Regions from separate parts of the Homo sapiens genome. Here all the other regions are linked to region 6. Evidence: promoter capture Hi-C in 16 types of primary human blood cells and fetal thymus (Javierre and others, 2016). All regions are on one chromosome and are shown on one strand. Each heading gives the region's core, a stretch centred on a gene start or on the middle of the fragment in contact. The rest is flanking DNA. Distances are from core to core; before and after follow the strand shown. Region 1 holds the start of APPBP2 (amyloid beta precursor protein binding protein 2). Region 2 overlaps CLTC (clathrin heavy chain). Region 3 overlaps CHCT1 (CHD1 helical C-terminal domain containing 1). Region 4 overlaps CLTC (clathrin heavy chain). Region 5 overlaps VMP1 (vacuole membrane protein 1). Region 6 holds the start of HEATR6 (HEAT repeat containing 6). Region 7 overlaps APPBP2 (amyloid beta precursor protein binding protein 2).

Region 1 (3,594 bases), core at 571-3,070, 450 kb before region 6:
AGGGTCTCATTCTGCCACCCAGGCTGGAGTGCAGTGGCATGATCATGGCTCACTCAACATTCTGGGCTCAAGTAATCCTCCTGCCTCAGCCTCCTGAGTAGCTAGGACTACAGGTGCACACCACCACATGTGGCTATTTTTTTTTTGTAGAGATGGGGTCTTGCTATGTTGCCCAGGCTGGTCACAAATAAGTTTTTAGTATAAATATGTCCCCTGCAATATTTGCAGAGATAATAATTATTCTTTTATGTGGGGCAGGGATCCTGATCTTCAAAAGCGCCAGTGTCTAAGAAGTGATGAAGGATTTGCTGAATGAACTGATACACTTGAGTGGCTCCGAAGGCATGAGCAAAACTATTGCACAGAACATACTTACATTTCAAAACCATTTGTTGTTTATCTGACATTAAGATGTGACTGGGCACTTGTAATTTTTTTTTTCTTTTTTTTGAGACGGAGTCTCGCTCTGTTGCCCAGGCTGGAGTGCAGTGGCGCGATCCTGGCTCACTGCAAGCTCCGCCTCCCGGGTTCACGCCATTCTCCTGCCTCAGCCTCCCGAGTAGCTGGGACTACAGGCGCCCGCCACCACGGGCTAATTTTTTGTATTTTTAGTAAAGACGGGGTTTCACCGTGTTAGCCAGGATGGTCTCGATCTCCTGACCTCGTGATCCACCCGCCTCGGCCTCCCAAGTGCTGAGATTACAGGTGTGAGCCACCGCGCCCAGCCTTGTAGTTTTTTACTTGCTAAACTGGCAATCTGATCTTGAGGCCATCCACAGCTTTCCTAGGTTCACAGTATAGAGTAAGAATTTATATAGACTGAAGAAGATTAAGAGTGTTTATTTTTTGTGGAATTATTTAACCACTTAACACTGAAGTACCAGGTGAAGGGTAAATTGAAATAACTCTTTCCACTTCTTTTAGCTCTAAATATCAATCAGGACATTATTATTATGGCTGTTTTCTGGACTTACATCGTTATAGAGTGACTATGAGTTTGATAGTGTCACCAACAATTATGGCCAATAATTTCCATGGTAAATTCCTAGAACAGAAAGATGTTGCATCAAATTCTTGAAATCGCAGACTTAGGAAATTAAGTTACATAAACAGCAGATGTTCAGGCTGAGGAAGGAAAGAAGCTGAAACAAGTACTCCCAATTATTCAACAATCCCTTGAAGCCGCCACTGTAACTCTGGGAATTGAAATACCATTAAGTCCTATCACGGCCACCACTTAGCCTTTTTTCTCTTACTATTATTTGTAATTCCATAATCAAGCTAGTTTTCCTACGAAGTTCTGGGGCAGGAGTTTTCTTTTTTCGGAAATTTCATTTGGATAAAGAAACATGGTCAAAAAGTTACAACGGTGCAAATGGTTATACAAAGAAAAACAAGTCTCTCTTCTATCGTTACCCCTAGTTCCTGGACCGCGGGTTCTTAACTTGGGTTAGGAACTGCAGTCTAAGGGTTTCTAGAGTAATGTGAATTTTCTCAATGCATAATTTTCAATGTACAGATAATTTTGCTCGTTTGTGGGGAGAGGATCCAAACTTTTACCTGAGCCTCAAAAGGGTCCGTGATGCAGAGAACCTGCTGAAGTAACCGATGGCCCCGAGTGACTCGGAACAGGGGGCGCAGATATCCTGTAATAATTTGTCCCCGTGTGAAAAGTCTACCCCTATCCACTCCACTCCACTCCACTCCGGGGCCGCTTGGAAGGGACGCTCTCCGTGGGAGGCATCCAGCTCTTCCTAAGTTTTCCGCCTGCCGCATTCCTCCCCTCCGGCGCGCCGGCGTGCGCTTACGTCATGACGCCGCACACGCAGCCCCGCCCCTGCAGAGATCAGCGCTGGGACGGAACCCGGGTTCCTCTCGAACCGGGATTGTGACGCTTTTGGCCTGGCTGGCCGCTGTTTTCTGTCCCACTTTTTACTCGGGCCTGCGTCCGCTGCCGCCGTCCCTCAGTTTGCCCCCGGAGGAGGCAGGGCGGCCGTGCCTTCTGCCGTGCGCCCGCGTGGCTGCCACCGCCCCTCCGAATCCTCCGGGGCCGCAGAGGGGTTCGCTACGGAGGGAGGTGGGGGCCTTCGGGAGGAGGAGGCGGAGGAGGCGGAGGAGGAGGGAAGGAAGATGGCGGCCGTGGAACTAGAGTGGATCCCAGAGACTCTCTATAACACCGCCATCTCCGCTGTCGTGGACAACTACATCCGCTCCCGCCGAGACATCCGCTCCTTGCCCGAGAACATCCAGTTTGATGTTTACTACAAGGTATGCGCCGTGGGCCTCCTCTCTGCTCTCCTCCAGCAACCCCGGGGGCCGCACCCCCTTCCACGTCTGCGAACCCCCGCAGTTAACCCCTCACCCCTTCCGGCAGACTTGCCTCCCGAAACGTCTGGTGCGGTGTCTGCATTGCCAGTGGAGAAGCACCCCATCTCCCTATGCCCTGTCTCTTAAGCTTTGGGGCCTTGAAGTAATCTTGGGGAGTCTTGCTCCCTGTTGGTGTTCCCTTCTACACAGTGGCCCTCTTGGGTAGGCCTTTTGCGTGGACTTACTCTATCGCGCCCCTGTCCCACCTAGTCCTTTCCTTCTAGCCCGTATCTTCAGGATATTTTCCATCCTCTCCTTCCAATTAAGTGTCAGCATCAGCTGGACTTTTTTCCGTGCTCCTCCCCCCACCCATTCCTACTTTCTCATCTCGCCGCCTTCCTTCCCCGAGTGTTTTGGTGTTTTTGCTTCGTGTTCCTTCGTTTCTCCTTTCTTTTCCCAATTGGGAAGGAGTTAGGGATTATTGGAAATAATCTGTGTGTTTTATTTGCATATTCTTTAAAGCTTTGATTTTTTTGTGGGAGAGGAGGGGCTCTATACTTGAATTAGGGATTTTGTGAAAATGGGAGTGCTGATCAACTGTTTGAAGAGGACAGGGAGAGATCTTTACTGAAAGAAAAAAACACTTTAGATTATGTTCCTGTGTTTGAAAGTTGCAATCTTGCAGCATTCTTAAATCACTCCCCCTCAAAAATCTGAACAGCAAGTCTCCCAAGCCACTCTCCAAGGAGTTTCAAGGGTAAGTGTCCTTAGATGTGGACTATTTTTGCAGTGTTTTCAGAGTGTGGAGAACTTTATGGACTCAGAGCCTGCCCTTTTCTCTCCCCCACATTTGAATGTGAACACTGGATTTATTATTCAGTCTTCCTTGTCTTGAATCCGCGTCGATAACTCCTAGTGTCCAGTAGCCACCCATGCAAAATGTGACTAAAAGTAGAATGTAATTTATTTTTTAGACCTTAAATACTTCCTCTTGATCTGTAAGTTGGCTGGAACAGTGTAAACTGATATTTTAACAGATGTTTATGTTCTTACGTATGTACAGTGTTTTGTGGCAGTTGTTTTATTGGGAAGATTGCCTGCTTTCTCCACCCCTAGATTTTTTTTTTTTTTTTTTTTTTTTTTTCAGAATTAGCAGTTGATGGGCTGCGTTCTACTAAATCCAGCTGCTTTGCACCAATTCTAACAATTAAAGTGGGGTTTCCCCCCTAAATATTTGGAGAAGATTCATTTAGGTCATGCGTATTATTATTTTGGATTTCGAGAAAA
Region 2 (3,419 bases), core at 490-2,989, 410 kb after region 6:
CCTTTGAAATAGTGCTATTTTTTTTTTCTTCTTTTAAACAGATGGTCATTCTTACTCACCAATTTCCTTCCGTATTTCAAAGGAAACCACAGAATATTATGTTTGGAAGAAATAATCCAGCACACAACTTAAGAATGCTAACAACTTCACATTTAGGGAAAAAATATTTTTGAACTATGACCAAACCCTTGTAGAACTGCTAACCTGGAATCCAACCAGAAAACACATTACTCAAAACCACTTACCTTAAGAAAATTCTTGACTCGCTCAGGATCGTAGCAGTTGCTTTCTCTACAGATTCTTTCTACTTCTTTGATTTGCCCAGTCTTGCAAGCTGCCTGAATATATTTAAAGTGCACATCTGGGTCCTGGCTAAAGTTAACAATGGATCCCAGAAAATAAAAGAGACCTTAAAGAAACAAGTAATTACAATTAAGCATAGGCACACTTTTGAGAATGACTGAAAAACATTTATGTAATTAAAAAACTGTTATATTGAATACTCCCAAATATAAGTTGGTTGCTTAAAAAGCGCGATAAAAATACTAACTATTCCATTAATCAGATCAGTAAAATGGATTGCACTTTAATCCTGAAGAATAGACAATTCAACCCAATGTTTCCTTTTTTTCTTTTTTATTGAGGCAGGTCTCTGTCACCCAGGCTGGAGTGCAGTGGCACGATCATAGCTCACTGCAGCCTCAAACTCCTGGGCTCAAGCAATCCTCCCACCTCAACCTCCTAAGTAGCTAGAACTACAGATGCATGCCACCATGCCAGGCTAATTTTTAAGAAAATTTTTGTAGAGATGGTGTCTTGCTATGCTAGCCAGGCTGGTCTTGAATTTGTGGCCCCAAGCACTTGGCCTCCCAAAGCACTGGGATTATTAAAGGCATACACCATTGTGCCCCTATATGGGAAATTTTAAATGAAGACCCCAATACCTGGTGTTTTTCAATATGCAATTTATAGGAAACATACAAAATAATTTGGGAAGAATTTAGTGCAGTATTGTCCAGAAGAACTTTCTGCAATGATGAAAATCTTATCTTTGCCTTCCAATATAATAGCCACTAAACACATGTGGCTATTAAGCACTTGAAATGTGGCTAGAGTGACTGAATAACTAAATATTAAATTTTATTTCACTTTAATAACTTTCAATGTAAATAGCTACTATATGTGGCTAGTGACTGTACTAAACAGTGTAAATTTAGTGCACAGTTAACATTTTGAAACTGGGAAAATTAAGAAAAAATTAAGAAAACTACTAGACTCTCTTACCCCTTCTCAATAGAGTACTACTAGTACAGAGAGGAGAGAAAGGCAGTTGGGGACCAGAAGTTAGACACCCAACAGTGATTACGTTAGTACCCTGTATAGCAGTGGTTCTCAACTGAGGTGATTTTCCTCACAGGTGACACTGGCAATGTCTGAAGACATTTTTGGTTGTCACAACTGGTGGAGCTGACGCTACTGGAATCTAGTGGGTAGAAACCAGGAATGCTGCTGAATATTCTACTAAATATTCTACATGTACAGGAACACCCCTCTACAATGATTATCCAGCCCTAAATGTCTATAGTACTAAGGTTAAGAAATCCTGCTAAATAGCAACAAATCACAAAATGCCCTTAGTGAGAATCACCTGCTATTATAAGAGTCAGACATATAAGCATAAAATTTTATTATACCTGATCATTAGTACAGACTGAGTATCCCTTATCCAAAATACTTGAGACCAGACGTGTTTCAGATTTTGAACTTTGGAATATTCGCATTATAATTACCTGATCAGCATCCCTAATCTGAAAATCCGATTTCTGAAATGCTCCAACAAGCATTTCCTTTGAGCGTTATGTTGGTGCTCAAGAAGTTTTGGACTTTGGTGCATTTTGGATTTTCAGATTAGGGACACTCAACCTGTATTTTCATTTTATACAATTTCAACACCACTACATATTTTTCTCTTAAAATTCTACCTTTAATTCATCTATAAAATATCCAAACAGATGGTCTGGTTCACTGCATATCCTTAGAATCCAACATAAAAGGGCCTTGACATATATTGAATAAAACTTAAAAAATTAAAATGTCCCATAGAACCAAATTTTTAGAAAAACAAAATTTCCAACAGCCTGATCATAAGCATACCTCTTCTTGGCTACCTTAAGTACTTTTTTTAAAAACTCAAAAACTCCTAATTACCTTCAAAACTCTTGAAAGATTCAAAAAGTTCAATCAGAGACTGAGTTGACAGTTGTTCATGATATTTAGAAGCCACCTGAACACAAATCTGCAGATTCTGACGGATGTTGGCAGACAGCATGGCTCTGAGACATTCTAGGGAGTCTTCTACTGATAAGGAACCAAAGTAGTTGACTAACCACTACAAGACAAAATAAATGAATGAATGAATAAATGAAATAATGTTGAACCTCATGGTGGTATGAAATTATTAATATTTAGTACCACAAACACATTTTCAGTGTACCTATTAATCACAACTAACACCATCTATTAGGTAAGAAACTGAAATACCTCAGGGTTAAGAAGATGGGTGTGAACCACTGCACGTTTTATATCATATAAATCAGTGAAATGTTCTAATGCACGCTGCAGTAGGCCAGCCTTTTCACACAGTTGAGCAATATGAGCCCGGTCATAATGTGTGAACATCTGATTGCCTAGAATAGCATCTGCAACCTGTAAAACCACAAACAAGGCAAGTTTATTGTCCACTCCACTTACATGAGTAATTCAATATCCGTATTACAGATTAAGGTTTAATAGTGAACTGTTAAAGTACAAAAGAATATTATAATAGCTACATTTTCTTTAATAAGGAGTAGGCCCCTCAGTAGCTTTGCATAACAATCTGAGAGGCGCTGCACAATTACTAAAACAATGTTGGAAACATGCCTAAAAAGCATTAAAACACATACTTGAGGCGCATGCATAAGGTTCATCTCAAGTAACCGCGTCTGTAAAGGACCTTCAGATGGGCGATTATTCTTCAGAGCATCAAGCAAGAATGCAGTACACTGCTGAATTAGATTGTATTCCATAAAGACATCTACAATCTACAAAAAAAGATTTAAAAGAAATTGTTTTAAGATACTATGGAGAGTATGTAGACAAAATTATGCATGAACTCTTTCTTTACCTGAGAATTTTATTTGGACAATATAAACACTTAAGAACAAATTTTTGTCCTCTAGGGATCATAGTTATTTTGAGTTCTGATAAAAACAACTACAAAATATTTCAAGATATTACATAACAGCAGAATACAACTGAACCGACAGACCTTTATTTTATTTTATTTATTTATTTTATTTTTTTGAGGCAGAGTTTCGCTCTTATTGCCCAGGCTGGAGTGCAATGGCACGATCTCAGCTCACTGCAACCTCCACCTC
Region 3 (3,432 bases), core at 261-2,760, 350 kb before region 6:
GACATTGCCAAGGCAACGGGTGACTGGAAGGGCCTGAGGATTACAGTGAAACTGACCATTCAGAACAGACAGGCCCAGATTGAGGTGGTGCCTTCTGCCTCTGCCCTGATCATCAAAGCCCTCAAGGAACCACCAGAGACAGAAAGAAACAGAAAAACATTAAACACAGTGGGAATATCACTTTTGATGAGATCGTCAACCTTGCTCGACAGATGGAGCACCGATCCTTAGCCAGAGAACTCTCTGGAACCATTAAAGAGATCCTGGGGACTGCCCAGTCTCTGTGGGTTGTAATGTTGATGGCCGCCACCCTCATGACATCATAGATGACATCAACAGTGGTGCTGTGGAATGCCCAGCTAGTTAAGCACAAAGGAAAATATTTCAATAAAGGATCATTTGACAACTAGTGAAAAAAAAAGAAAAAGAAAAAGAAAAACTCATTTTCTGGGGAGAAATTCAAGCTGGCAGCAGAAATTGGCATAAGTAAGGAGGAGCCAAATGCTAATCCCCAAGACAATGGGGAAAATGTCTCCAGGGCATGTCAGAGACCTTCTTGGAAGCCCCTCCCATCACAGGCCCAGAGGTCTAGAAGGGAAAAAATGTTTTCCTGGGCCAGGTCCAGGGCTCACCTGCTGTGTGCAGGCTCAGGATTTGGTGCCCTGCATCCCAGCTGCTCCAGCATGGCTAGAAGGGTACAGCTTGGGCCATAGATTCAGAAGGTGCAAGCCACAAACTTTGGCAGCTTCCACATGGTGTTGAGCCTGTGGATGCACAGAAGTCAAGAATTGAGGTTTGGGAACCTCCACTTAGATTTCAGAGGATGAATGGAAATGCTTGAATGTCCAGGCAGAGGTATGCTGTAGGGGTGGAGCCCTCATGGAGAACCTTTCCTAGGGCAGTATGGAAGGAAAATGTAAGGTAGGAGACTCCACACAGAGTTCCCACTGGGGCACTGCCTGGTGGAGCTGTCAGATGAGGCCCACTGCCCTCCAGACCCCAGAATGGTAGATCCACCAACAGCTCACCATGTGCCTGGAAAAGCTGCAGACACTCAATGCCTGTGAAAGCAGCCAGGAGTGGGGCTGTATCCTGCAAAGCCACAGGGCTGGAGCTGCCCAAGACCATGGGAACCTATCTGTTGCATCAGCATGACCTCAGTGTGAGACATGGAGTCAAAAGAGATCATTTTGGAACTTTAATATTTGACTGCCCTGTTGGATTTTGGACTTGTATGGGACCTGTAGTCTCTTCATTTTGCCCAATTTCTCCCGTTTGGAATGGGTGTATTTACCCAATGCCTGCAACCCCATTGTGTCTAGGAAGTTACTAACTTGGCTTTTGATTTTACAGGTTCATAGGCGGAAGGGACTTGCCTTGTCTCAGATGAGATGTTGGACTTGAACTTTTGGGTTAATGCTGAAATGAATTAAAACTTTGGGGAACTGTTGTGAACGCATGATTGGTTTTAAAATGTGAGGATATGAGATTTGGGAAGGGCCGGGGCGGTATGGTATGGTTTGGCTCTGTGTCCCCACCCAAATCTCACCTCTAATTGTAATAATACCCACATGTTGTGGGAGGGACCAAGTGGGAGGTAACTGAATCATGAGGGTGGGTTTTTTTCCATGCTGTTCTCATAAGTCTCATGAGATCTCATGGTTTTATAAAGGGGAGTTCTCCTGTACACACTCTCTTGCCTGCTGCCATGTAAGATGTGACTTTGCTCCTCATTTGCCTTCTGCCATGACTGTGAGGCCTCCCCAGCCACGTGGAACTGAGTCAATTAAACCTCTTTCCTTTATAAATTACCCAGTCTCAGGTATGTCTTTATTAGCAGTGCGAGAAAAGACTGACACATGGGCTCAAGCGATTCTCCCACCTTAGCCTCCCAAATAGCTGGGACTACAGGTGTGCGTCACTATGAACAGCTAATTTTTTTGTAGAGATGGGGTTTTCCCATATCGCCCTGGCTAGTCTGGAACTCCTGAGCTCAAACAAACCTCCACCTCAGCCTCCCAGAGTGCTGGGATTACAGGCATGAGGCACCATGCCCGGACTTAAAGTGTTTTAAACAACAAGTAGAACATGACCCAGGACAAACAAAACACATCAGTAGCCTTACTTTAGTGTGCAGGCTGTGGATTTGTGACTGATGGCTCGAGCCACCATGTTAGCTAAGACCATCGGTGTTGTTTCCTCTTTGGTCTCCTGCCTCTAGCCTCGCTCACTTCCATGCACTTTGCTCACAGTCACCAGAGCATCTCCCCAATACCGTAGTGACACCCATTCATTCCACTACTTGACACTTCCCTTACCACTGCCCATCCCAAGCTACCCACAAAATGAAGTCCAGACAATGCAGGCGGGCTGCCAGGCTTGCCATTCTCTGACCCCAGGCTCCCTCCCTCCCCACCTGTGTGCTCCACTGGCAAACACCCAGCTCCTTTGTTAACTCCCCGGAGGCCTGCCCCAGTCACCTGTATTTACCCTGCTGTCGTGTCTTTTCTATGTCTGTCTGCTCCACTAGACTGTGATGGTCCTTGACAAAGTGACCACATCTTATTCATCTGTGCATATGTGGGGCACCTGCCACTTAGAAGGTGGCTGGCAAATATCTTTTAAACAAATTTAAAATGTACGAATGATGACTGTTGGTCAAGTAAGGTAGAACTGTCATAAGAATGTTTATTTCCCACCTCATTTATTCCTAATTAAGACCTGAGAATCTTTTTGATAAGGACAATTCTTTTCCCTTTTTGGTCTCCATTCCCCGTGCTCTGAGAGCCAGGACAAGCGGGCCCTTTGTCCCAGTTGGTCTTCTTACGGTTCAGTCTCTGGAGTTTCTGGGGCTTCCTTTATCCTCTTCCTCTTGAGTTTTGGTTTTTGAGAAAGCTCCCTTAAAGAATCTGAAAAAGAGAAGGTCAGAGACAGTCCCAATGACATCACAAATAGTAAGAATCTCAGTCTGTAATACATGGGGGGTGTTGTAGGGGCAGAGAGGAAGAATAGCAAAATCCTATCTTACTTCCCACCTATATCACTTAGTTTTTTCTCACAGAAACCCAGTAGAGAGATGGCATTGTCCCCAATTTACAGATGAGGACTGTCACCCAGGTCCAGGGTAAAGCAATGACCTGCCCAAAGTCTTACAGCAAGTTAGGGGAAGAGTCAGGGCAAGACCCGAGTTTCCTCGACCTCTGGCTCCAACCTCTGATTCTTCCTTACTCCTCTCCTAGGCCTCATGACCCAATTCCCAGTACTGTTTGCAAACCCCATTGCCAAGTTTTAATTAAGAACTGACTTTATGGCCAGGCACAGTGGCTCACGCCTGTAATCCCAGCACTTCGGGAAGCTGAGGCGGATGAATCAGTTGAGGTCAGGAGTTTGAGACCAGCCTGGCCAACATGGTGAAACCCCATCTCTACTAAA
Region 4 (3,200 bases), core at 685-3,184, 460 kb after region 6:
TTTGACTCAACAACACATTCCATGCCTGCATCTATGGATCAAAGGGGAAAGAACAGGGTAGGGAGATTTTTAATTGAAGACCCAAAGAATCTAGGAATACAATGGAATGTGTCAAGTGGCCTAAAGATACTTAATGTGCCAGAAAATTGAAAATCACCAAAAAATTAAGAATCACAGGCAATATTTTATATATGTAGCCTAGGATTTTTATAGAATCTTCAATTCCAACAGTATCTTGCTCAAATAGGCACTCATTTATTAACTGCTATCAGTCTAAACAGTCTAGGAAAAGAGAAATCTTCATATATTCACATTCATTTGCTGTAGGTCCAAGCTTTGATGACAAGAGATCCTTCAGTTGGACAATGTAGTTAAAGGGTATAAAAATAAGTTCATTTACAGTTTCACAAGGTAACTCTACACTCACACTTAAGTTCCCCATTTCTTGTTTCCAGTTTTTATCCTACGTGTTTCAGAAAGTTTTCTGCTACTTAGCAAACTGGTAGAAGCTCAGAGGTCAAAGACCAAAGATGCCAATTAAAATAATCCTTATTAGTTGGGCTCGGTGGTTCACACCTATTATCCCAGCACTTTGGGAGGTCAAGGCAAAGGATTGCTTGAGCCCAGGCATTCGAGACTAGCCTGGGCAACATGAAACTCCATCTCTACAAAAAATACAAAAATTAGCCAGGTGTGGTGGCTCATGGCTGTAGTCCCAGCTACTCAGGATGCTGAGGTGGGAGGATGGCTTGAGCCCAGTAGGTCAAGGCTGCAGTGAGCTGTGATGGTGCCACTGACCTCCAGCAAAAACCCTGTCTCCTCAAAAAAACAAAATGCTTATTAATTTTTAAAAAGGGAGGAGATAATGATATGAAGTTAGGAGATATATTATCATGAAAGAGGCTGTAGTTATTTGGGCTCCACAATTAATCAACTGGAGCACAGTCATATTAGCTAAGCAAGCTTAAGTTTAGGCATGACATAGCAATCCAAAACACAGAGGACTGAATTTTTCAATTTGCAAATCGCTTTATATTCAAAATCTTCAAATTATTTGAGAAGAAAATGGCTTCATTCAAGCATCTGCAGAAACTTTGATCCAGTTACAAAACAGACATGTATTAAATTTGTCTTTAATAAGTGACAAGGTTGGGTTCGAATCTTTGGGATCATTTAACAATTCTTGTCTCCTCTTTAAAAGAAATGAAAAGCTATTACTCCAACCACCACAAGATTTAGTAGTGAGCTACACATCTGCCGTGGAAAATAAAGAGCAGCTGTACTTGATTCTCTGTGTGGTTTATAAACATTTGTCTGCAGAAAGATATTTCAGATGCAGTTTAATATGAAAATAAGCCCGCGTTTTCCCCTCACACTTAAGAACAGCACCCCTCAACTCTCCACATTCATTTGCCACCCCACTTTAACAAAAGCAACCACAGCAACTAAACTTGGATTGATCAAAAAAAAATGTCCATTTTGTTATTTAACATTTTTAACCCTCTGTAAAAGTGTTTTTATTGCCAAGGTATATTCCATTACTTCAGATGAGTTATTTGAAAATTATAGATGACTGAGGAAAGTGCATTATTTAACTCATTTTATGGGTAAAAATTTATTATTCTTTACATTTCAAGCCTTAAAGGAAAATAAGTCCTTGCTAGTGCAAACATGGTAATACTTGCAAAGAAATATGAAATTATGTTACTTATAGCCTGAATGTTAAAACCTTTTATTAACAAGAATCCTTTATGTATGCTATGCCAATGGGGAAATGTAAATAAAAATGGTCTTCAATGGTAAAGTGTCTAATAGGTCACTGATATCAGTGTCATGTCAAACCACTGCATTCCCTGTCATTATGGAATTAGCCCTTCAGACGACTGAGCTGAGGCAGGTTTCTTTAAGGGGATATTTGGGAAGAAAGCAAATTAATAGGAATAAATTATTTAAGCTACAGTAAAAAACAGGATTGGTGACACAGGAAAATCAAAAGCTCTGAAGAGGTTTAATTCAGTGAAGCCTTCCAATGGTCACCTGCCTAGGCCCGCCACTGGCATGTTGCCAGATAACAATATGTTGCCTCCAGGATAAGGAACCATGGGGAAGAACTCTAGAACTTACTAAAGGGAAGCCAGTCACAGACCAAATAGCCCTGCAGGTCTCAGAGCAGCTGTGCTGTCCCCAGGGCTCTGTTCAATTCCATGCGATCCTGAAGAAGATATTCAAAACTACCTGCTACTACTCGAGAAGACTAAAAGATAACCTCTGTATCACTCTTTCCTACCTTCCAGAACCAAAGAGGGGTTAAGAGCCACAACATCCCCAGAGAAATAAAAAAAGGGGGAAGGGGAGGCGAGTTTCCTTAGGGAGTTTGACCGCACACACTCTGAGATTGACATAGCTCTAAGAAATGCGTTCTCCCATTCTACCCTCGTTCCGTTCTTTCAGTGACCTTCTGTCCCTACTGCCTCAGGGAAGGCAAGAGAAAAGCCACCGCCTCACCACCACCCCCAACCCCCACCACCGGAGAAGGTGCCTTTCTCAGTTGAGAGCCGCAGAGGGAGGGAAAAAAAAGGTTGCTCCTCCCCAACCCACCCGCCCCACAACTCCTGGGTGCAGACACGATGAGGGAAAGAGGAGAGCAATGGAAGGTGACAGCCCCGCACTGGCCCAGGGGATAAGAATCCTTGCTCTGGTAGAAACAAGGGAGAATCCCCCTCCCACTCCCCTACCCAAATGAATGAAATGAATAAAATGGGGAGAGAGTTTGTACGCGCAGTTCTGGCCATCCAGGAAGCAAGATCGAGAGGCCTTTGGATCCAGGCCTGGTCCTTGCAGCTCTTTGCACCCCAACTCCTGTCCTTTCCATCCAAGCCCCACATCATTTAATATTTTAAGCTTTCCAAGATAGTGCCCCCTCCTCCACCTACCCCAATCACCGACAACCCCCCCGCCCCTCCAGCTCCGATACTGCTCGGGCCCAGACTCCAGCGTCTTCCATCCTTCCTACCACCTTCTCCACAGCCCTCACCAGCCCGGGCCCGGCCGCACCTGGAGATGCTCCTGAAAACGAATTGGCAGAATCTGGGCCATGGCGCTGTCGGGGGTTATGGTCTCCTCCTGTCACTGGGGCTGCGGGGCAGTGGCTGCCCGGGCTCTCCAAGGGAGAGGAGGAGAAGGGGAGGGGGGAGGCTGGG
Region 5 (3,402 bases), core at 307-2,806, 370 kb after region 6:
CACCACGCCCAGCTAATTTTTGTATTTTTAGTAGAGATGGGGTCTCACCATGTTGGCCAGGCTGATCTTGAACTCTTGACCTCAAGTGATCTGCGCACCTTGGCCTCTCAGTGTTGGGATTACAGGTGTGAACCATTGTGCCCAGCCCTAAGATACCTTCTTAGTCTCCGTTTTGTTAAAAAAAAAAGTCTCTCTTTTTTTTAACAAAAAAAAAAAAAAAAAAAGAGAGATGGGGTTTTGCCATGTTGTCCAGGCTGGTCTCGAACTCCTGGACTCAAGCGATCCACCCACCTCAGCCTCCCAAAGTTCTGGGATTACAGGAGTGAGCCACTGCATCCAGCCCAGATCTTTCTTTTACCTGCCCTTGGCCCTCTCCTCTCCCTATCTCCCCAGGTGACTCATCTGGTCCATGGTTGAAAATACTATCCCGTATTTGTATTTCTGGTTTTGACCTCTAGATTTATATATGTAAGTGCGTGACTTGGATGATTTATTATTATTATTATTATTATACTTTAAGTTCTAGGGTACATGTGCACAATGTGCAGGTTTGTTACATATGTATACATGTGCCATGTTGGTGTGCTGCACCTATTAACTCGTCATTTACATTAGGTATATCTCCTAATGCTATCCCTCCCTCCTTCCCCCAACCCACAACAGGCCCCGGTGTGTGATGTCCCCCCTCCTGTGTCCATAGATGATTCTTTAAGTGTCTCAAAATTAACATGTCCTTTTCTCCCTACACCTACCCACCTTCTTGTAACAAACAAACCTGGTCTTCTCCAAACCTCCCTTCTCCCAGTACCTGGCACAACCACCCACCCAGTCACTAAATCCAGAAGCTTAGTCATCCCTGACACTTCCCTTTTTCTTACCACTCATCTAACCCAGGACCAAGTCCTATACCAAATATATTTGGTATCCACACACAACTGTCCATCTTCTTTGCTACCCTTCTAGTCCAGACCATCTTCATCTTCTTCTTGGACTATGCAGTGGACTCTCAACTTCTCTCTCCATTTCTGTTCTTGCCCGCTTCAATTCATCCTTCACACATGAACAACAATGAACTTCTTATAAATCCTATTACTCCTCTACTTAAAATTGTAGAATGATTTCCTACTGCACTCAAAATCAAATTCAAACTCATTCCCTTGGCCTGCAAAATTCTGCATGACCTGGATCCTGTATATATTTCCTATATCATCTCATGTCAATGTATTCCAAGTCTATTATGCTCCAGCCTCAAATAAGCATATATCCACATTGTTAACTCTCTCTTAGACCCTCATGTGCTGCCTTCCTAACAATTCTTATTTCCCATTGTTTTCCCCAGAACCTGGTGTAAGGCCTGGGACACAAAATGTTTGTTCACTGACTGGATAATGAACAGATAAGGCAATAGATGTCACTGGAAAATGATCTTTCCATTCCAAGAAAGTGCTAAAAGACATCATGAAACATCAAAAGTTTCAATTGCCAAATTCTGTGTTATGGCTTACACAGATAATGTAGTCTGTTAATACCAAAAAGTTAACAGAATGGCCCAAAAGAATGCCTCATTTGGTTAAGAATCTCACATATGTTGTAAAATATAGACAAAGTGAAGTGTATACTCAGATATTTATTTACTGGAACTTCATTAATAATGAGCAAACAATAATTAAGTAAGCAGCAACATAAAGCTATGCTTTTAAAAGAGGGCTGGGAAAGAGTTCTTGGCAATAGCTTAGGGGGCCACATGATGATAATGATCACAATCATGGTTAACTATATGCTACAGACACTGTTCTAAATGCTTTATTTAAACCTATTCATTCAATCCTAACAAGAAGGGTATTGACTTCATTGTCCAGGAGGAAACTGAGATAGCAAGAAGTAAAAAGTAACTAATCCAAGAGTTGCATAGTAATAGAGCTAGAATTTGAAAAAAAGCAGTCTAGCTTTATAGCCCTGGCTTTTAACACTACCTGCCTAGTCCTTCCAGGTAATCTATAAAGAACAAAGTTATCATTAAAAAACTCAAGGACAAGAGAAAATACTCCCATGAACTACTGAAAAGATTAAGTAGTTCAAGAATACAAACAAACTCTTGAGCAATTATAGGTATATTAGCTGTGATATAATTACTCAATAGATTGCCCTTGCTTAATTTAAATATGCCTTAAACTTTAAGTATCACCTTTTATCTGACACAGAAAATTATCTCCTGTTCAAATTTCCTTGATGCTGCAAATCAAGGAGCATATTTTAAAATAAGCTTTATATAAGGGCCTACATAATACCTAACTTCAGTTCAGCAAACTCCATCCAAAGCTGCTTTCCCATATAAAATAAGGAATTTCTTGAGGCAATATGCTCTTAGCAATTTACTATTCCTCAAAATATTTGCAAGGCTTTGTGAAAGCAGAGTAACAATTTACAAAACCACGACAAAGTTATCACTTCAATTTGTCCTGTTTATTAGGATTCTCTAATCTAGAGTTCATTTCCACACCAAAATGGGAGACACAGCAAGGGCACTTGGGCAAAAACAGGAATGACAGTAGCACCTAGAACTATCATCTCCGAGAAAGACTAAAGAGACTAAAAAGTTTGTTAAATCAATGGAACCAAAAAAAAAGAGTACCCAACAATGCAAAGAATTAACTCTTCTACAATGGCTATTTACCCAGAATAAAATAACTAGAGAAATGGCTCTATATATAATAGATAATTAACATAACAAAATATTAAAATTACAAACAGCTTGGGGAGGTTTTTTTTTTTGTAAGAGCAAATAATACAGTTCTCTCCTACTGCTTTTCTTTTATTTTCTTCTCTTTTTTTTTTGAGATGGAGTCTCGCTCTGTTGTCCAGGCTGGAGTGCAGTGGCGCGATCTCGGCTCACTGCAACCTCCGCCTCCCGGGTTCAAACGATTCTCATGCCTCAGCCTCCTGAGTAGCTGGGATTACAGGCGTCTGCCACCACACCCAGCTAATTTTTTTGTATTTTTTGTAGACACCGGGTTTCACCATGTTAGACAGGCTAGTCTCAAACTCCTGATCTCAGGTGATCTTCCCGCCTCGGCCTCCCAAAGTGCTGGGATTACAGGCGTGAGCCACGGCGCCTGGCCAGTTCTCTCCTACTCTTTAGCAACAACATTCACAGTAGACACGTGTTAAGGCTCCTCCGTCATTTCCACTTGCCAGAAAGATAACTCAACACATGACAGTCATGAAGCATGAACTCAGACAAACTATTCTGAAGAATATAACTGATTTTCTTTCCTTAATCTATTACACTTCAAATCTAGCCAAGCACAGTTTTTGTTATGCTACAATTTATAAGACTAAACTAGCTAAAGAGGGAAAAAAAGTTTGTAAATAAGGCTTATGTGCGTATGTGTGTATTTACGT
Region 6 (3,524 bases), core at 362-2,861:
GCACATATTGGTATTAATTCTCCTTCCTTCCCTGTTCATTTCTGGATAAATCCCTCACCTATCAACCTCATCTGAGGCTCTGCTATCAGGGAACCCAGATTAAAATATCCAACGACTAGGTTTCAGCTCCTGATCTTCTCTGAACAAATGCTTGAATACATTTCTTTACACGAATACACACACACACATGCACATATATAACGCACATATGTACACAGACTAGGAATAAGAAATAATATACCAGCACAACGGAATCTAAATCCAAACAAAAAAATTAACATTTCTCCCCAAGCCCAAAGTCTTCAGAAAACTACCTCTGCTAAAGCATACCCCCAATTTTCACTGCTGAACAGAAATGTTTTGTTCTCAGGATAAAACATACATTCAGGTGACTTCAAGGTTTTCCCTAAGGGCCAAGGGTGAGGATTTGCTTTATATTTGCATAACTCAAAGGCCCTAGAGATGGTTTTCCCAATCTGCCCAACTGTGAAAGTCAAGCCTTCACTTCCTGGATGACTGAAAAGTGATCACAGATTTTTAAATGGCCATTTTATTCTCCAGCTTCTTGACTTCAAGGTTTCAGAAAATCTTGGGGTGTCTCATTTCAACCCGGTCACTCTTAGGCAGATTATATTTTACATGATTCAGTTAAACTCCAAAATTACTCTTCTAGTGGGGCGAGGTGCCTCATGATCCATGAGAGGATTCACACTGGGAAAAAGGGAGAAAAAGGAACCAAGAGTACAGCCAGCTGTCACTTAAGTAGGGAAAGCTGCCTTATATTCCACTGACCAGATTGCAATCACAGAGCCACAGCCAACTGCAAGGAATGCTAGGGAACGTAGCCTTTATTCCGGGTGGTTTTGTGCCTGGGGAAAGATTTTAGAAGAGTAGAAGGGTGCCTTAGAACTAGCGGTTTCTGCTACTGCCATCCACAGCATACCCTCTCCAACTCCAGCCCGAATCTGAAACTCTAGTACGGAACAGAGTACCTTCAGCCCTGTCCAGGAACAAACTCTGGGAGGACAAACTTTCTGGAAGCACAAATTGAGAACTCACTTTTCAGTCAGGGCTCAAGAAGGAGTGGCCGGCGAAAAATCTCCAAGCCAATTTCTTTCTTTTTTTTTTTTTCTGAGACGGAGTCTCGCTCTGTCGCCCAGGCTGGAGTGCAGTGGCGCGATCTTGGCTCATTGCAAGCCCTGCCTCCCGGGTTCACGCCATTCTCCTGCCTCAGCCTCCCGAGTAGCTGGGACAACAGGCGCCCGCCACCACTCCCGGCTAATTTTTTTTTTTTTTTTTTTTTTGTATTTTTAGTAGAGACGGGGTTTCACCGTGTTAGCTAGGATGGTCTCGATCTTCTGACCTCGTGATCCGCCCGCCTCGGCCTCCCAAAGTGCTGGGATTACAGGCGTCAGCCACCGAGCCCGGCCTCCAAGCCAATTTCTGACAAGCATCTGCAGGGTACCGGTCGGAGGAGTCCCGTAGTCATGGAAACCCCTCTGAGCCCCAGTCCGGTCTAAAAAAGGTACTTTCGGAACTAGAGCGCGCGGAACGGGAGGATGTCCCGGAAGTATTTCCCTGGGATCACCCCACCCACCCCCCCCGCCCGTAGAAAAGATGGCTGCTGTGCAAGTTGTCGGTTCGTGGCCTTCCGTGCAGCCGCGGGAGGCACCGCGGGAAGCAATCCCTGAGCGAGGCAATGGGTTTCGCCTCTTGTCTGCCAGGCTCTGCGCCCTGCGCCCGGATGACAGCAGCTCCGCCCGCACCGAGATCCACCTGCTCTTCGATCAGCTCATCTCCGAGAACTACAGCGAGGGCAGTGGCGTGGCCCCGGAGGTAGGCGGCGCGCCCTGCTGGCCCCGGCCCCGGCCCCACCCCTCCGGGAACCCAGCTGGTGGCCTCTGCCTGCCTTTCCCTGATCTTCCCACTCTCGCGCCTGATGATTTAGTTTCAGGATGGCGTGCCCCCTCCAACCTTGGCACATTCTTAGTTCTCCATTTGGAAGACCCTGCAGTGCTTGGCACGCTCGAGTCATTCAAAACCCAACTTGACGACTCCTGCTCTGATAATGCCTCGGGTTTCCTCTCTGATACCAACTTTCCATCCGCCCGCACCCTCCTTCACTCCCTCTCTGTGCACCCAGAACACTTGGTTGACAAAATGCATTACTACTGTTTATTGCGTACATGGTACACGGACCACGTGGGAATCTTAGAACTTGCGTAGTATTAGGGCTTGTTTGCTAATGAAAATACTGAAGCTCGTAAAAATACAGTATACAAAACTCTGCCACAAAGCCCCTATGTTTTCTGTTCCTACACACTAGCTCCTCCCCTCTGCCGTCTTTCTGAGTAATCTTACACACATCAGGCCTTAAATTAATGAATTCTCTGAACTGTTGACACCATGGCCTTCTGGCCCTACGTAGGAAAGAGGGAAGTGGTGCAAGTTGCCTGCTTGCACAGGCATCTCAAACTAGACAGTTCCTAAAGATGAAATTCATTAGCTCCAAACACGCATTCCCGTCCCCAGTCCATCCCACCTTCCAACACACATGCATCATCCACCAAGTCACACCAGACACAAACACTGGTTCTTCCCTCCTTCATCCCAGATCCTGACCAACTCAGGTATTTCAGAATGTGTCTCATATATATTTCTCAGTTCATCCCCTCCTGTCTATTCCCATAGCGAGTGCCTTAGACCTCAGGCAAGGCGACTTATGCCTGGACTGTTCGCTGATCCCCTCTGACTGATCTCCTGCCTCCTGTCTAGCTCCTCTCCAAGCCAGTCATTCCTCCAATGCCAGAATGATCTTTTCTTTAGGAGGAAAAAAAATTGTTCATAAACTTTAAAATCTGCTTTGGAAAAGTCTTCAATACGTATTGGTAAATGGTTGAAGCAAGTTGCAGGACAATTCATACAGAATGAGATCAGTATGAAGCTGGAGGAGGGATTTTAAAATATGTGTGTTTATATATGCAAAGTAAAAGGTCTGAAAGAATTGACTACAGAATAATAGTGTATGTCATTAGGAAGCAGAGTGAGATTAAGGCAGTAGTCGGGGACTTTTGCTGTATTTGTGTAATTGGATACTTTTGCAACAAAACTTCCATTCTCTCCTGTTACTCCCCCTTTTGTTCCTGTGTGCAGCCATTTAAAACTTGCTGTTCTTCAGGCACCTACTAGTGTTTCACACCTCCAGGTTTTTGCATACTCTGTCCACTTTGCTTGCAGTGTTTTTTGATGCCCTATCTGGCAAATTTCTCCTCATCCTTCAAATCATTCCAGATTCTGCTTTACAGTCACCTCCACAAGGCCTCCCTAATTACTGTTTCTGGACAGAGTTTGTACTTTATTCTTTCAGCACTTGATTCACCTTATTTTAATTATTTGTTGTGTTTCTTTCTCTCTCACTAGTTTGTGAGCTCTTTGAGGTTCAGGAACATGTTTGTTTTACCTTTGGAGCCCAAAGACCTAGCACACTATGACACATAGTAGGTGCTCAGAACCTTGTCATTCTA
Region 7 (3,216 bases), core at 218-2,717, 390 kb before region 6:
CAGATCTCTTTTACATATTAGGTTTATATAAGGCAGTACACATTTGTAATGGAAAATTTAAAATCAGACAAGCCGAGCACTGTGGCTCATGCCTGTAATCCCAGAACTTTAGGAGGCCAAGGTAGAGGATCACTTGAGCCCAGGAGTTTGGGGCCAGCATGGGCAACAAAGTGAGAGAGACCCTGCCTCTATAGAAAATTAGCCGCATGTGTAGCACACGCCTGTGGTGGTCACAACTACATGGGAGGCTGAGGCAGGAGGATCCCTTGAGCCCAGTAAGTTGAGGGTGTAGTGAGCCATATTTATACCACTGTACTCCAGCCTGAGTGACAGAGTGAGACCCTGTCTCAAAAAAATAAAAAATCAGGCAAAAGGAGTGTTTGTGAGGTGAATTTGAAATATATACATGTGTAATTTAGAGCCCTTTCTTTTGTTGTTTTTCTTTTAATTTAACCAAATATTTGCCTAAATTGTTTGGTTGGGCCTCGTGTTGTAGTTTTTGAGACAGGATCTTGCTTTGTCACCCACGCTGGACTCAAACTCCTGGGCTCAGGTGATCCTCTACCTTGGCCTCCTGAAGTGCTGGGATTACAGGCATGAGCCACCATGCCCAGCCTGACAGTTATTTTCCTTCTACATTTGGATTTAGGGGTTTATACTGTGCCTTATTCATGTCTTTGCAGCTCTCAGCACATTCGTGAGGAATGTTGAAGTCTTGGATAATTTTGACAGTTCAATCTTCTAGTGATAAATAAGCTTTTCACTGATATCTACAGAAAAGTACACAAATCTTACAGACATGGTTTGATGAATTAGCATCATGTTTTTGTGTTAGGATAGGCTAGGTTATGCAGAGGTAATATCAACCCCAGAATAGCTTGGAACAATAAAAGTTTCTTTCTGGCTCATAATATATCCCTGTCTTCAGATGGCTATGGCTGTTCTTAACATTATACCTACGCTTTGATCAAGACACAGCGTGGTTTTGGGTCTATCTGGAACGTATCTATCTAGAACATTACCAGCCTGGGCACAGGGGCAGAAACTTCATGGAGAAGTACTGCCGGCTCTTGGACTTTTCTTCCAGAAGTGGCACATTTCACTTCTCATATTTTAATTGTGGAAAGAAATCACATGGCCACACTTGTCTTTGTTTGTTTGTTTGTCTGTTTGTTTGAGACAGCGTCTCACTCCATCACCAAGGTCTGGAGTGCAGTGGCATGATCACGGCTCACTGCAGCCTCCACCTCAGCTCTACCAAGTAGCTGGAACTACAGGTGCACATCACCACGCCCAGCTAATTTTTTTGATTTTTGATAGAGACAAAGTCTCACTATGTTATAACCCAGGCTGGTTTCAAACTTCTGAGCTTGGCGATCCTCCCATCTCAGCCTCCCAAAGTGCTGGGATTACAGGTATGCACCACTACACCCAGCCTAAGACAATTTATTTTGCCTTTTTTATTTCTTCCACTAAGCACCAGGAGAGGAAGGACATTTTTGGTTTTGTTTCCCACTTCATACCTAGATACTAGCACATTACCTGCCACTTAACCTCTCTACACCTGTTTCCCCTAATAGTACGTATCTTATAGGGCTGTTTTGTCAGGTAAATGTGTTAATGCACATAAAATACTTTGGACAGTAGCTGGGACAAAGTAAACACTCAACTAAACAGACAATTCAGACATAAAATAACAAATGTTACAATAGGAGGATGGAATGTATAGGAAAACACAGGAAACCCCACAAGACAGATGAGTTTAAGGGGTTGGAGGAAGGGGGAATGTATTTTAAGGCAGAGGGAACAGTATGTGCAAAGGCTTCTGGGCAAGAGAGAACATACCTCTGATTTCCAGAAGATATGTCATGTATCCACAACGTCTGATTCAGATAAGCTATAGATATTAAGAGTAAAAATAATATAACAGATTTATACTTTGAAGAAAGTTTAGCCTCAGAAAATTCTAACTGTAAATATTTTGTGTGTGTTCTTATTTAAGTGCTTGTAGAAAAATTTTGCAGTCATCTTGTTAAATATTGTCAACTTGATTTAACCACAGTTCTGTCTCTTCTATAAATAATTTTTTTAGGCATACAAATGGTGCATCGAGGCAATGAAAGAAATTACAGCAGGCTTACCAGTGAAAGTTGTGGTGGATGTCTTAAGACAAGCTTCTAAGGTAAATATAATGTTAAAATTATTAAATGAATTATAGGATTTATCAGGCTTTAAGTTTGTTTTAATTAACCTGTTATTTAACATTTTAGTTATTTGTACACTCCGTAGGCATAGGTCTGTTTTATAAGTTTCTGTGCTCATTTTTAGAAATCTGGTTTCTAACTAAAACTATATCACACATAGATTTTTAGCCAATTTTTCTTTACCAAGAAAACCAGTGAAATAATTCATTTTGATCATTGTTTCAGTGCACTAAAGTACAGCTCAAAGTAGTATTTGGGTGCTATTCTGGCTTGAGTTTGTTTTTGTTTTTCTTAAATATTTATAGCAACCAGAATTCCTTATGCCAAAATCCTGTGAACTTTGGTCACTTTTCTGCTAAAGATAGCCTGGTGTTAAATCTCTTTGTCATAGTATTGCAGTCTCACAGCAAGGCAGCTTGCTATACTTGACCTGCTAGGCAGTCCTTACTTGATTTTTCTCTAGTGTTTTCTTATTCTGTAAATAAATGCATTAAATCTTTTACATTTTTATTTTATTTTAAATAGAGACAGGGTCTCACTATGTTGCCCTGGCCGGTCTCAAACACCTGGACTCAAGCGATCCTCCCACCTGAGCCTCCAAAAGTTCTAGGCAAGCCTCCAAAAGTTCTAGGATTACAGGTCCACCACGGTTGGCCTGCGTTAACTCTTTGAGGACATTTAGTAGTATTTTAAAACTACTCCTTTGGTGCAGTGAGGACTTAAAGCATTAATGTACTTTTCAGATACACTCTTCTACCCTGAAGTTTCTCAGATTTGAATATTTCATTTTGGTTGATTTTACTTATGGAAATTCAACTAGAAAATAGATTCCAAAATTATAGATCTGAGAGAGTCTAATATTTCTCTGAAATTTATTAAATCAGTCATTTTAGAGTAAGTAAACAGCATAAATATTTAAGTTATCAGAGCTAGAACAGGGATATTCTTACGTTTTTAATTAATTGAAATAATTGAATATTAATATAAAGACAACATAATATTTATGCAAGAT

What was found. Contacts are between HindIII fragments. The CHiCAGO score rates a contact against its expected background, and 5 or more counts as called.
Region 1: a contact is called between the fragment with the promoter of APPBP2 here and the fragment with the promoter of HEATR6 in region 6, in 2 of 17 cell types (naive CD8 T cells and neutrophils). The highest score is 5.5, in naive CD8 T cells.
Region 2: a fragment that was not itself captured here is called in contact with the fragment with the promoter of HEATR6 in region 6 in 2 of 17 cell types (M0 macrophages and M1 macrophages); the score reaches 6.3 in M0 macrophages.
Region 3: a fragment that was not itself captured here is called in contact with the fragment with the promoter of HEATR6 in region 6 in 5 of 17 cell types (M0 macrophages, total B cells, neutrophils and 2 more); the score reaches 6.6 in M0 macrophages.
Region 4: a fragment that was not itself captured here is called in contact with the fragment with the promoter of HEATR6 in region 6 in 1 of 17 cell types (activated CD4 T cells); the score reaches 5.0 in activated CD4 T cells.
Region 5: a contact is called between a fragment that was not itself captured here and the fragment with the promoter of HEATR6 in region 6, in 2 of 17 cell types (activated CD4 T cells and megakaryocytes). The highest score is 5.1, in activated CD4 T cells.
Region 7: a contact is called between a fragment that was not itself captured here and the fragment with the promoter of HEATR6 in region 6, in 3 of 17 cell types (naive CD8 T cells, naive CD4 T cells and M0 macrophages). The highest score is 6.2, in naive CD8 T cells.

What each region holds. Positions count from the first base shown.
Region 1 is chr17:60,524,468-60,528,061 of GRCh38, reverse strand. It overlaps APPBP2 (amyloid beta precursor protein binding protein 2), which reads left to right and starts at 1,820. Exons shown (of 13, transcript NM_006380.5): 1 at 1,820-2,268. The coding sequence starts at 2,131. RefSeq lists a silencer at 1,991-2,130 and enhancers at 2,211-2,480, 2,201-2,909. The HindIII fragment of the contact is 8,801 bases long and covers 1-2,457 here.
Region 2 is chr17:59,665,767-59,669,185 of GRCh38, reverse strand. CLTC (clathrin heavy chain) reads right to left here. Exons shown (of 32, transcript NM_004859.4): 11 at 2,946-3,083; 12 at 2,542-2,706; 13 at 2,209-2,389; 14 at 246-409. Among named protein-coding and RNA genes, the nearest start is that of PTRH2, 40 kb to the left of the region's middle. The HindIII fragment of the contact is 4,362 bases long and covers 1-3,419 here.
Region 3 is chr17:60,430,658-60,434,089 of GRCh38, reverse strand. It overlaps CHCT1 (CHD1 helical C-terminal domain containing 1), which reads right to left. Exons shown (of 6, transcript NM_181707.3): 6 at 2,664-2,909. The coding sequence ends at 2,824. It also overlaps the pseudogene RPL12P38. Among named protein-coding and RNA genes, the nearest start is that of CHCT1, 9.9 kb to the right of the region's middle. The HindIII fragment of the contact is 7,385 bases long and covers 1-3,432 here.
Region 4 is chr17:59,620,028-59,623,227 of GRCh38, reverse strand. CLTC (clathrin heavy chain) reads right to left here. Exons shown (of 32, transcript NM_004859.4): 1 at 3,055-3,200. The coding sequence starts at 3,096. Among named protein-coding and RNA genes, the nearest start is that of CLTC, 1.7 kb to the right of the region's middle. The HindIII fragment of the contact is 1,938 bases long and covers 966-2,903 here.
Region 5 is chr17:59,710,506-59,713,907 of GRCh38, reverse strand. All of the region lies in intron 1 of VMP1 (vacuole membrane protein 1), which reads right to left. Among named protein-coding and RNA genes, the nearest start is that of VMP1, 4.6 kb to the right of the region's middle. The HindIII fragment of the contact is 1,418 bases long and covers 848-2,265 here.
Region 6 is chr17:60,077,008-60,080,531 of GRCh38, reverse strand. It overlaps HEATR6 (HEAT repeat containing 6), which reads left to right and starts at 1,611. Exons shown (of 20, transcript NM_022070.5): 1 at 1,611-1,836. The coding sequence starts at 1,618. It overlaps HEATR6-DT (HEATR6 divergent transcript), which reads right to left and starts at 1,223. Exons shown (of 2, transcript NR_135648.1): 1 at 1,060-1,223. RefSeq lists a silencer at 1,825-1,954. The HindIII fragment of the contact is 13,067 bases long and covers 1-3,524 here.
Region 7 is chr17:60,462,987-60,466,202 of GRCh38, reverse strand. It overlaps APPBP2 (amyloid beta precursor protein binding protein 2), which reads left to right. Exons shown (of 13, transcript NM_006380.5): 6 at 2,093-2,182. Among named protein-coding and RNA genes, the nearest start is that of CHCT1, 42 kb to the right of the region's middle. The HindIII fragment of the contact is 1,418 bases long and covers 759-2,176 here.